Regions from separate parts of the Homo sapiens genome. Here regions 2 and 3 are each linked to region 1. The links are contacts of gene promoters, found by promoter capture Hi-C in human tissues and cell types (Jung and others, 2019). All regions are on one chromosome and are shown on one strand. Each heading gives the region's core, a stretch centred on a gene start or on the middle of the fragment in contact. The rest is flanking DNA. Distances are from core to core; before and after follow the strand shown.

Region 1 (3,646 bases), core at 419-2,918:
TGTCTGATCTGAACTCACATGGAAAATTCAGCTGCGAATATTTTTACGCAACAGCAAAAACAATCAGCCTTTTTCATATCAAGGTGGGGATTGAGAAGCTAAATGAGAACATTAGGGGCATAAAATTAGTCTGCTTTAACTTTAATAACCAAACGGTGATTGGAAACATACAAACTTTGTGTTTGCAGGAATGAGGGGCTGGGATCACTAAGACTTAAAGGGTTTTTCTCCCCCACCCCGCGACCATGAGCACACAGCAAAACTAATAAAATTATGACCCAGAATTAAAAGGTCGCATTCATTTTCAAAGCATTCATTTAAAAGTACAGAAGCGTTCTTTAAAAATGCCCACATTTTTAAACATAGCAAGAATGTGGCTACCAAATATTAATCCTGAGGAATATGAATACACATTTACCTTCATAATTACACCCAGCAGGTCAAATGTTAGCAAGGCCAACTGACCGAAATCACAAAGACTGATTGAAAATGACCAACAGAAAGTGTCTGTCCGGCTTGGGAGCCCCGCTTGTTCCCAGCCCAACCAGTGGTCAAACATCTGCAGGCAAAGAAATCTACACGCGCCAGCCGGGTATGGCAGAAATCAAACTTTTCCAAATAAGTTAGTTCCGTCTTGCCAATCTACACCCAACAGGTGTCAATACATGTCACCAGACAAAAATCTGGCGAGCCAGGTCTAGAGAAGCAATAGATGGTTGGCAGAGAAGCTGAAACGACTCGACCTCTACCAGGGTAATGAAAGCAAGTCGGGCCACTATTCTGACTGATCACTTGGCAGTGGGGTGGAGGGGTATGGAGATGGGAGAATCCCTGGATGAAGATCGGAAGGAGCGTGGAGATGTCCCGCCACTGGTGACGCGGGGGGATTTCGGAGCATAGTCCCCGCACTCTTTCACGACCCCCGACCCCTGATCCCCGGATTAGGACGGCAAGGGAGTGCGGCGATCAAGGCTGGGAGACCGCGGAGAGAAGGCGCGCGGTACCTGCTTGTCCAGCGCGTCTCGGACGCCTCCCTGCCCGGCGCCGGCCCTGGGTGGCGCGGGCGTTCGTTCGCAGCTGCAGCCCTCCAGGAGGTACATGCCCGCCGGGCGGCAGCTCTGCTCGCCCTCGAAGTAGAAGAGCACATTCTGGTAGAGGGCGAACCACTTCTCGTGCCAGCGGCTCGCCTCGGCCGTCTTCTTACTCAGGAAGCCGCGCTTGGTGCCCTCCTTGCGCGCCAGAAAGGCCAGGTACAGGGCGTGCCCCTCGTTGTAGCGCACGCTCTTCTGCATGGTGCGGGTGCGGAGGGCTCACGGGTGGCCGCCGGTCTCACCCCTGCCTCGCGGCCATGGCCCAGCTGGCTCCCTCGAGGGCGCGACCGCTCAGGTCCCGGCCGGCGAAGGGCGCCCCCTTTCCCCACGCCGCGCGCAGGGCACCCCGCCCGCTTTCGGGAGGCCGCGGCGCGCGGTGGCAGGGGCGCGGGCTGGGGCCGAGGCACGCTCTCCGCCCTAACCACCACCCTCCCGGCCGAGCCCCCGGAGCCCCCCAAGCCCCCAACGCCCGCGTGGAGCGCGGCCCCGCGAGGGCGCCCGAGCCGGCCGCCGCTTCGCCCAAAGTTGCGGGAGCCGAGCCCCCGCGGCGGGCTGGGGCGGCAGCCGGGGAAGGACTGTCCTCGGGCAACGCGCTCCGGGAGACAGAAGGTAAAACGTCACGTGGGAGCTCAGCTGTAATCGGCTTGGAGACCGATTTAAAGGGCAAAGTCGGCGCGGCGCCGGCGGTGGCGCAGCCCGCTTGCCCCGGCTCGCGTCCCTCCCTCGCCCGCCCCGGCCCGGGCCGCTGCCTCTGCTCGGGCGCCCGCCGGGATGGGGCGGATCAGGGAGGTGGAGGCGCCCGGCCGCACCACACACCCGCTCACACGCGCTCGCACACTCGCGCACAACGCGCGCACACACACACGCACACCCACACACACGCAGACCAGTACATTCACCCAGATCCACAATGCACACACTCAGACGCACAAAAATACACTCACAAATGCACACAAACACAATGCGCGCACATATGCACAAAAACACACGCGCACACACTCATGACACACAAATACACATTCTCACAACGCTCACACTCAACACACAGTCACAACGCACAAATGCATATAGACAAATACACCCACAATGTGCGTTCCCGCGCACAAAAATAAAACCCACATTCAGATACACACTTAAGGAGCTACACACATGCACGCAGTGATATGCTCACTTACACACACATTCACACACAACCCACACATTCACTCAAACCCACATTCAAACATACATTCATACACACATTACACTCATACAGTCACACAAACAGCACACATATACTCACACGTTCACAATCATACAGACTCATAAGCAGATAATCAAACACACACACAGATGAACACACATGTACATTCACAAATTCATCCAAAAATACACACAAAGCACTCACACACGTATTCGCACGAATCCACACACTTTCACAAACCCACTCACACATACACACACACTCACATGCCACATCCATAAGTACGTTCCCATGGCAGTAGGTAGAGTCACAGAGTGGCTTTGCATAGCCCGCATCCTTGGCTTTTCTGCTTGTACCTGCATTGTAGTATTTAAAACTGCCGGTAAAGGTTAAGGAGAGTGGCCCAAGTGTTCCCGGAAAGGCATCAGATGCCGAAGTTCTTTCGGAATGCCTGTTATTTCACAGTGGTAAGATGCTAAATTTTAAGTGCCGAGTTTTCAACCTGGAAAAAAATACCCAAATAAGGGACACTTTGCTGCCCAGGGCAGAATCCAACCCCAAAGGCCAGCTGTCACAGGCTCATCGTTTGTAGGACTGGATTCATTTGATTAACAAATCTGACAGGTACAACCAGAAAACCAAGAGCCACCCCCCCGCCCCAACCCCATGCTGTAAAAATGTAAGTGGAAAAGAAATAATGTAGCCAGCAGCTGTGAGAGAAAGCCAGTGAAACCCCCGGGGAGGGCCTATATTTGATTCTGCTATACACATTTTTTATTTTCCCCAGTCATTTATCACTAAAACGGAGTGCCATCATAAAATGTTTATTGTTAAAAGTAAATAATAATGCTTTTCTGGGTGATGAGTCTACGACAATACACCTGTCTTGTACTGCCAGTTGTGTGTTCATGAATTGGTAGCCCCAGGGGTTCTGCCTGTTTCATAAGTGCTGTTTCTGCAGAATATTTTAACTCTGCCTCACTGAGCAGCTGAGTGGGGTTTTTTTTTCCTTTTACCTTTTTAAAAAATTTTCACTTTTAACAAGTATATAGTAGGGAAATTGCCATTTTGAAATTACAGCGTGAGAACAGTGGTCATTTCTCTTTACGTTTTTAAAAATATCTAAAGGACAGTGCTGTGCTAAATTGGGTTTAACCCAGCTGGAAGTTTGCATTGTTCTTCAGAGAAGACACAAGTACAGAGACAGTAAGTAAATGCAGGCAACATTTTGGAGCCAGATTCTAGATGCAGAGGAGCTGGTGATTGCCTCAGGAGGCCTTTTATTTCTTTCTCTGTGGTCCAATCCCAGCTGTGAGAACCGTAAGTGAGTAGACACCTGTGTGGTTGATAAGCTCCATTTTTTTAGTAGAAA
Region 2 (3,646 bases), core at 659-3,158, 300 kb after region 1:
TCAGAATATATTTCGAAACCTATTGAGAGTTATGGCATTGCTGACCCCACCCTAATGGTCCTGGACCATGGGGCATTTATGTTCACTCAGTAGCTTTTTGCCATTCATCCACGTCTATCCATGCCATCAAACAGCTTATCACCTGTAATAATGGCACTGCTTCTACGTGCCCCCTCTGTCTACTTACTTCTAATTTCCTGTGATGTGGACATGCCAAGTTGGTCATTCTATGTATAAAGCAATAATGTATACGCTCTTCTGAGACCTTGGAGTAAATGCTCCTATCAATAAAGTGAGCTTTAATGGATAAACTTTATGACTTCTATGCTTAATAACCACTATACTTAGGTGAACTGCTTCTAAGTATTAAAAGAGACTAAAAACAAAAACACCTTTTTTTTCTTGATGATCTAAGATAAGTCAATCAATATTAGCCTGGCTGAGGGAGGAGTTCATGGATCTGGGCTTTGTGGGAAAGGTGTGAAATCTTGAAAATTATAGGCAAAATTTTGTTGGCTTGAGAATTTTTCTGAAGAAAAAGGCCAACAGCTTTCATTAGAATTTCAATGACTCATATATATACATACACACATACATATACATATATAGAACCATTTCTCTAATTCAATGGTTGTCAATCACAGCTACAGATTAAAATGACTGCTTTTCCTTTAGTCTCACCTCATCTGCAGGCTAAGGTGGGAGGATTGCTTGAGACCAGAAGTTTGAGACTACAGTGAACTATAATCGCACAACTGTACTCTAGCCTGGACAACAGAGCAAGACTCCATCAATAAAAATAAAATACAAAATAAAATGTAAACTTTTAAAAAATATCCATGCCCATTTGTCAGTGAAAACCAATTAGATAAGATTCTGAGGGAAGGTTCTTAATGGCAATTTTTGTTTGAAGTTCTCCAGGTGATTCCAATGTAAAGCTAAGGTTGCGAACCAATCACTATTCTGAATTACAGATTTCAATGATGGAGCATGAGTTAAATTCCCTGATTCTGCAGTTATGAAAACCATTAAAAGTCTCAAAACAAATAGTGGATAAAGTAAAAAGCCCATGTTCATTTGGCTTACATTTGAATTTACTTTCTATCTATCAAGCTTTCAACTGAAACCTCAAAATATCTAAGTTGCCCATCATGATTTTCCACGGTAATCATGGAAACTCTAAGGAAGACTGTAAGAAACTGTGCTTGTATTAATTCTCAATAAAGAATCCCTCCAAGTCAAGGGCTCCTGATCCAGGCAATACCTCAGAATTACCTGGAAGGCTTTTGTTTTGTTCCCATACAAACCAATTAATCCCTCCCAAAACACAGTAAATCGAATCTCCAGGGATGTAAGAAAACTAAACTAAAACACAAAAGCTCCCTCAGATGATTCAGAAGACCATCCAAGTTTAGGAACCATTGCCATGAATGACCTCAGAGAACCTGACAGTACTTCAGAACCCACTATTCTAGGTAACTGGATACTCATCTATAGCAGTTACATACCTTTTGATTAATTTGACGTTTCGAATCTTCAGAAGAAACTGCATTCTTTGCGTGTAGAAGACTGATATCATCAAAATCAGTACATTTTGGCAGAACTGCAAATCTCTCCTGCAGAGATTCTGTCTGGACTCTACTTTGAGGAAGGGCAGAATCGCAGCAGAATTCTTTCAATTTTTCCAGAGACTTTGAAACATTCCTGGTCCTCAGACATTTCTTTGGCTCTTAGGCAGCAAATAAGAAGAAAACAGAACAATAGTAATTTTGGTCTCATTATGTCAATTCATAACCAGCATAGAATTTTTTAAAGAGGTAGATTCCCAATAAAGCAATGAATCTAACTATAATGTGATTTTTTTAAAAAAAGAAAGAAACACTGGGTTCAGGGTAAAGATGGCATATTAAACACAGATGCAATTTCACTCATTCCTGAAACCTCATTACTATAGTAGAGGTTTTTTTTCTTTTTTGTTTTTGTTTTTTTTTGAAGACATAAGCCCATAAGGACAGAGAGGAGAGGTAACAACTGCAAATGAGATATCTAAAGCTAGAAAGGAAAACAAATGAACAGTAACCAATTCAGCACACCTGAGAGCTAAATACTAAGTCAGTAATTAGGAAAACCAAGAGCCAACTCTAATTACAACACAAAATGCTCAAAAGACTCAGGAATTAGAGTACCAGTAGCTCTGGAAAGGAATAAAGGGAGGTTCTAAAATAAAGAGGATTGGTTCAAAGCAATTTGTTCCCTAAACCCCTACCATACTCCAAGCTCAAAGACAACTGTCCTTCCTCCACATCAGCAGCCAACTGGAGATTTCTTCCCTGGAAAGGCAAAACAAGCACAGTTGATGGAGTACTGTACCTAACCCAGAAGGACGATTAGGAACACAGACACAATGTATGCTGAGATCCACGGCCTCTCCAGAACCCAGGAAGCCAGAGCACTCCTACTCCCCTCCAGGCAGAAGCTGGGAGGACTCTTGACTGGGAAATCTTACTAGCTCAAGCGGAAAGACTTGATATTGACATCAGGGGTTTACCAAGAAAACCAAATCACCATACTCAGAAACACCATCACTTTGCCCATGATATGCTTTCTGCATGTCAAAATTGTATTCATTCTTCAAGACCCATCTCAAATCTACCTTTCCCATAAAACCTTCTGCTAATTTTCACAGCTTAAAATCATCTTTTCTTTCTCTGTGTTCCTCTAACAAGATCACATCTCCCTGTGGCACTCATCACAGTCTGCCAATTGGCAGTTTTTCATAAACAAGCAATCCATAAAAGAAGGGAAACTATCATTTTCTGGATCCCTACCATGTACTAGAACACAGTATTTCACCGTTTAGAGCACTACTATTAGGTTGGTGCTATTAAATGTAAAGGAACTGGGACTGCACACATTTATCACCTCTTACCTTCCCTATTAAAGCAAAAACACTCTGAGGGCAAGAGTTGTGTTTTGTTCATTTCTAAAAGTTTAAAATTGCTCCCAAGCTGCTTGCTAGGGCCCACTCCCACCCTGTGGAGTGTACTTTTTGTTTCCAATAAATCTCTGCTTTTGTTGCTTCAAAAAAAATAGTTTAAAATTTTCCCTATTTATATTTAAACCTCTTCACAGGCTTTCATTAGATCTCCTGTGAATTTTCTAGCCACAAAAATTTAAATTTGACTCTTTTCTCAAATGTATATTCACCTTGTTTACTATTACTCTCTTTTTTGAAATGTATATTTGTATCGCTCTTCAAAAATATACTATAAGTGTGTATGTTATACAAAGAGTTTCCCTCCTATAGACATAAAAAAAAACTGCCTGGAATGAAAGTGGGATGAAGATCTTGGAGTTGTATTTGCTGGGAAAAAAAAAAAAAGTATTGTGAAAGTTGATCATATAAATTGGGTCATTCTTGTCATACTCAATTGAAATGGAGTAGAGAGGCCAGGGGAAAAAGCACTGAGAGCACATATCATTGCTCCAAAAATGTAATTCTCTGCAAGCCTAGCTGCTGAAACTGCCTACTGTAACCTGAAACCAATTTTACCTGATAGCTGCTAAAACAACCTGCTGTGACTCTATGGCTAGTTTTACCCATTGCAGTCATTCACTAATCAGAGCTTGCCAGTTACTCCAAATT
Region 3 (3,646 bases), core at 421-2,920, 270 kb after region 1:
CTTAATAACATTTCGTATGTGTGAAGCACTTCCTCTTAACCAAATTAATGAGTAAGACCTGTTGTTTCTTTTACTCTCATTCTTTAAAAAAAAAAAAATTGAAACCTTTATACTAATGTTTAATTCAAATGACATTAGAAAGAAGTTGGACTTCAGTCATAACACAGATACCTAATTTGCATAACAATTCCTCTGATAATTATATAGTCTCACAGTTATCACTTCATTTTGGCACCAAAACTCTGCTAAATATTTTCCATTAAAAACTTGAAAGTCAAAGTACAATAACATAAAGTAATAAGTGATTTCTACTATATAAATTAATTTAATAAGAGATGAACACAAAATGAAAATGCTACTATGGTAATTTCAAACACGTGTCACCATAAGTGACATTCAGGTGGTACTATGCCTCCGCATAAAGAATCATGTTAGATAATACTTTTGGTTAAACCTCAGATGATGTAAGGCTCTCTGTGGCCAAAAAGACATAATAATAAGGTATTTCTAACACTGAAAGTAAACATAGTAGAGGTTATTCTTATTCCCCAACATTAAGATTTCAATGTTTTCTTTAAATCTGCAGCATACACATCTATCTTTGAGGAAGCACTTATGTGTTCAAGCATTTATTTCAAAGGTCAGATAGCTAAAGTCACTGTGGTACCACAGGACATTCTTCCACATGTCTTTTTCAAATGATATCAATGAGCTAAGGCTAGTTTTTAACCAAGTATCTTTCTGAATGTCATACAGTTTCAGTAAACTATAACAGAGTCAATAATGTAAAAAATTAGCTCACATCATTGGTTATACCACGTGTGACAAATTATAACTACACATCCCTACCTTGTCCTGGTTCTCCACCTAGCTCTTTAATTCCTCCCCTTCTGTTTGTATTCTTGCTCCTATTCCCAACTATTGGCATTCTCTAAGCTCCTTGATCTGATTCTTTTCTCTGTATCCGCTTTTTCCTTTAGGGAAATATTTATTTTTAAAATTCAACTGTCCCATCTAGGCAGTACACTCATCTCTTCCCTTCTATCATGCCATTCCTTTTCCCAGAAACCTTACTGCCTTCTACAGGAATCCATACCAGTTTGCTGGATTTCATAGGCCTTCACCCTTTCTTTCTCAATTCTCAACATGAAAGTTCCCTCTAATCAGAGAAATCTCCCTTCTGTCTTCACACTTCTCTAATATTTCCAGCCTGTGTGCCTCAGACCTCATATCATTTCCATACACACACAACATACCCTTCCCCCCTCCCCATTACCAACTCAAAGCCTTCTATTCTGCAAATGTACCAGCCTACCCCACCTCCTTCATACAGCCTTCCTTGGCTATGCCAGTGCTCAGGAAGCTCTCATTTCTTTGAACGCAAAATTGAGTGTCATTTGTGATGTTCACCTGATTCACCTGAAAAGTCAGTTTCCTTGAGAACTAGTAAATATTATTTGTTTATCGCTTTCTAAAGCTTTCCTCTCAACCATTTCTATAAACATACAACATTTCTAAGCTAAAGCAACCTTAACTGCAATTGATAAAGGGCTCGAGACTATTGCTTTCCATTTGTTTCTTTCTCTACATTTTTACAACAAAAGAAAGTGTAACAAGATAGTAAGACTGATTCCCTAAGACACAGGCTGAAATCTTACAAACATACTTTACATAAATAAAAATAAATAATCTAAGAAAAATTGATAGTGTATCATTATTTAGGAGTAATAATTTTAGATTACTATCATCTCTAATATTTGTTCTAAGTCACAATATGATACAAAGTAAATAAACCTGTACTTTCAGATATAAAAAGAAATGTGAAGATTTTAGTAACCATTAAACAGTAATTCACAAAATATCAAATCCTTTGGAGACCTCTTGTGGTTAAAGTTAAGAATACCAAAAACCCTAATATTTTAAGATAGACACTCCACAATTCCAAGCCATTCTTTTGCCTTTCCTCACACAGCTTTAACATATTATGTCTTCAAAATTAATAAAATATTATTAACCAGTAACTGACAAAAACTGCTGTTTTTACCTTTAGGTATATAGCATAAGAAAAAAATGGGGTACTTAGTCTGAGATACAAGAAACTACTTACCAGTGTTTAAAACAGACAAGAAGATATCACCAAAAACAAAACAAATTTTGTACTTGCAAATTTAATACTGTATTGTTTACTGGTTGTAAATATGGAAACAAAGAAGGTCATTATATAATGACAAAGGGGTCAATTCAGCAAAAGGATACGATAATTGTAAATATACATGCCTGAGGCAGGCGGATCACTTGAGGTCAGGAGTTCGAGACCAGCCTGGACAACATGGTGAAACCCCGTATCCTGTCTCTACTAAAATACAAAAAAAATTAGCCAGGCGTGGTGGTGCACGCCTGTAATCCCAGCTACTCGGGAGGCTGAGGCACGAGAATCGCTTAAACCCGGGAGGCAGAGGTTGCAGTGTACTGAGATCATGCCACTGCACTGCCCCCTGGGTGACAGAGCAAGACTCTGTCTCAAAAAAAAGAGAGAGAAAAAAAATAGCAGCTGGATACTTCAACACCCCACTTTCATCATTGGACAGATCTTCCAGACAGAAAATCAATAAAGAAACGTCAGACTTAATCTTTACTACAGACCAAATGATCCTAATAGATATTTAGAGAACATTTCATTCAATGGTTGCAGAATACACTTTCTTTTCCTCAGCATGTAGAGGATCTGATCATTATAGCATGAATGATCTAAACATTCTCGAGATTAGATCATATGTTAGGTCACAAAACAAGTCTTAAAACATTCAAAAAACTGAAATAATATCAAGAATCTTCTCTGACCACAATGAAATAAAACTAGAAATCGAAAACAAGAATAATTTTGGAAACTATACAAACACATGGAAATTAAACAATATGCTCCTGAATGGCCAGTGGGTCAATGAAGAGATCAACAAGGAAATTTAAAAATTTCTTGAAACAAATGATAATGAAAACACATACCAAAACCTATGTGATACAGTGACGGCTGTACTAAGAGGGAAGTTTATAGCTAAAAGCACCTACATGAAAAAAGAGGAAACATTTCAAATAAATAACCAAATGATAAACCTTGAAGAACTAGAAAAGCAAGAGCAAACCAAACCCAAAATTAATATAAAATAAAAATAAAAATCAGAGCAGAAATAAATGAAACTGAAACAAAGAAAATACAAAAGATCAACAAACCAAAAGTTAGTTTTTTGAAAAGATAAAATTGGTAAGACTTTCCCAGACTGTGAAAAAAGAGAGAAACCCCAAATAAACAAAATTAGAGATGAGAAAGAAGACATTACTACTGATACTACAGGAATTCAAAGGATCATTAGTGGTTACTATGAGCAACCATATGCCAATAAATCCGAAAATCTAGAAGAAATGGATAAATTCCTAAACACACACAATCCACCAAGATTGAACCACGAAGAAATCCAAAACCTGAACAGACCAATAACAAGTAACGAGATTGAAGCCATAATAAAGTCTCCCAGCAAAGAAAAGCCCAGGACCCAATAGCTTCACTGCTGAATCCTACCAAACATTTAAAGAACTAGACCCATTTTCCTCAAACTATTCTGGGAAAAAAAAAAAAAAAAAAAAAAGGAGA

What was found. Contacts are between HindIII fragments. The study calls those that stand out against the background at their distance.
Region 2: a contact is called between a fragment that was not itself captured here and the fragment with the promoter of RASGRF2 in region 1, in 1 of the 25 tissues and cell types used here (hippocampus).
Region 3: a fragment that was not itself captured here is called in contact with the fragment with the promoter of RASGRF2 in region 1 in 2 of the 25 tissues and cell types used here (hippocampus and mesenchymal stem cells).

Annotation. Positions count from the first base shown.
Region 1 is chr5:80,958,385-80,962,030 of GRCh38, reverse strand. RASGRF2 (Ras protein specific guanine nucleotide releasing factor 2) reads right to left here and starts at 1,668. Exons shown (of 27, transcript NM_006909.3): 1 at 1,005-1,668. The coding sequence starts at 1,292. RASGRF2-AS1 (RASGRF2 antisense RNA 1) reads left to right here and starts at 1,124. Exons shown (of 4, transcript NR_105015.1): 1 at 1,124-1,250. RefSeq lists an enhancer at 844-1,565. The HindIII fragment of the contact is 17,436 bases long and covers 1-3,646 here.
Region 2 is chr5:80,663,226-80,666,871 of GRCh38, reverse strand. It overlaps MSH3 (mutS homolog 3), which reads right to left. Exons shown (of 24, transcript NM_002439.5): 3 at 1,509-1,729. Among named protein-coding and RNA genes, the nearest start is that of DHFR, 10 kb to the right of the region's middle. The HindIII fragment of the contact is 3,007 bases long and covers 405-3,411 here.
Region 3 is chr5:80,685,197-80,688,842 of GRCh38, reverse strand. All of the region lies in intron 8 of MSH3 (mutS homolog 3), which reads right to left. Among named protein-coding and RNA genes, the nearest start is that of DHFR, 32 kb to the right of the region's middle. The HindIII fragment of the contact is 8,779 bases long and covers 1-3,646 here.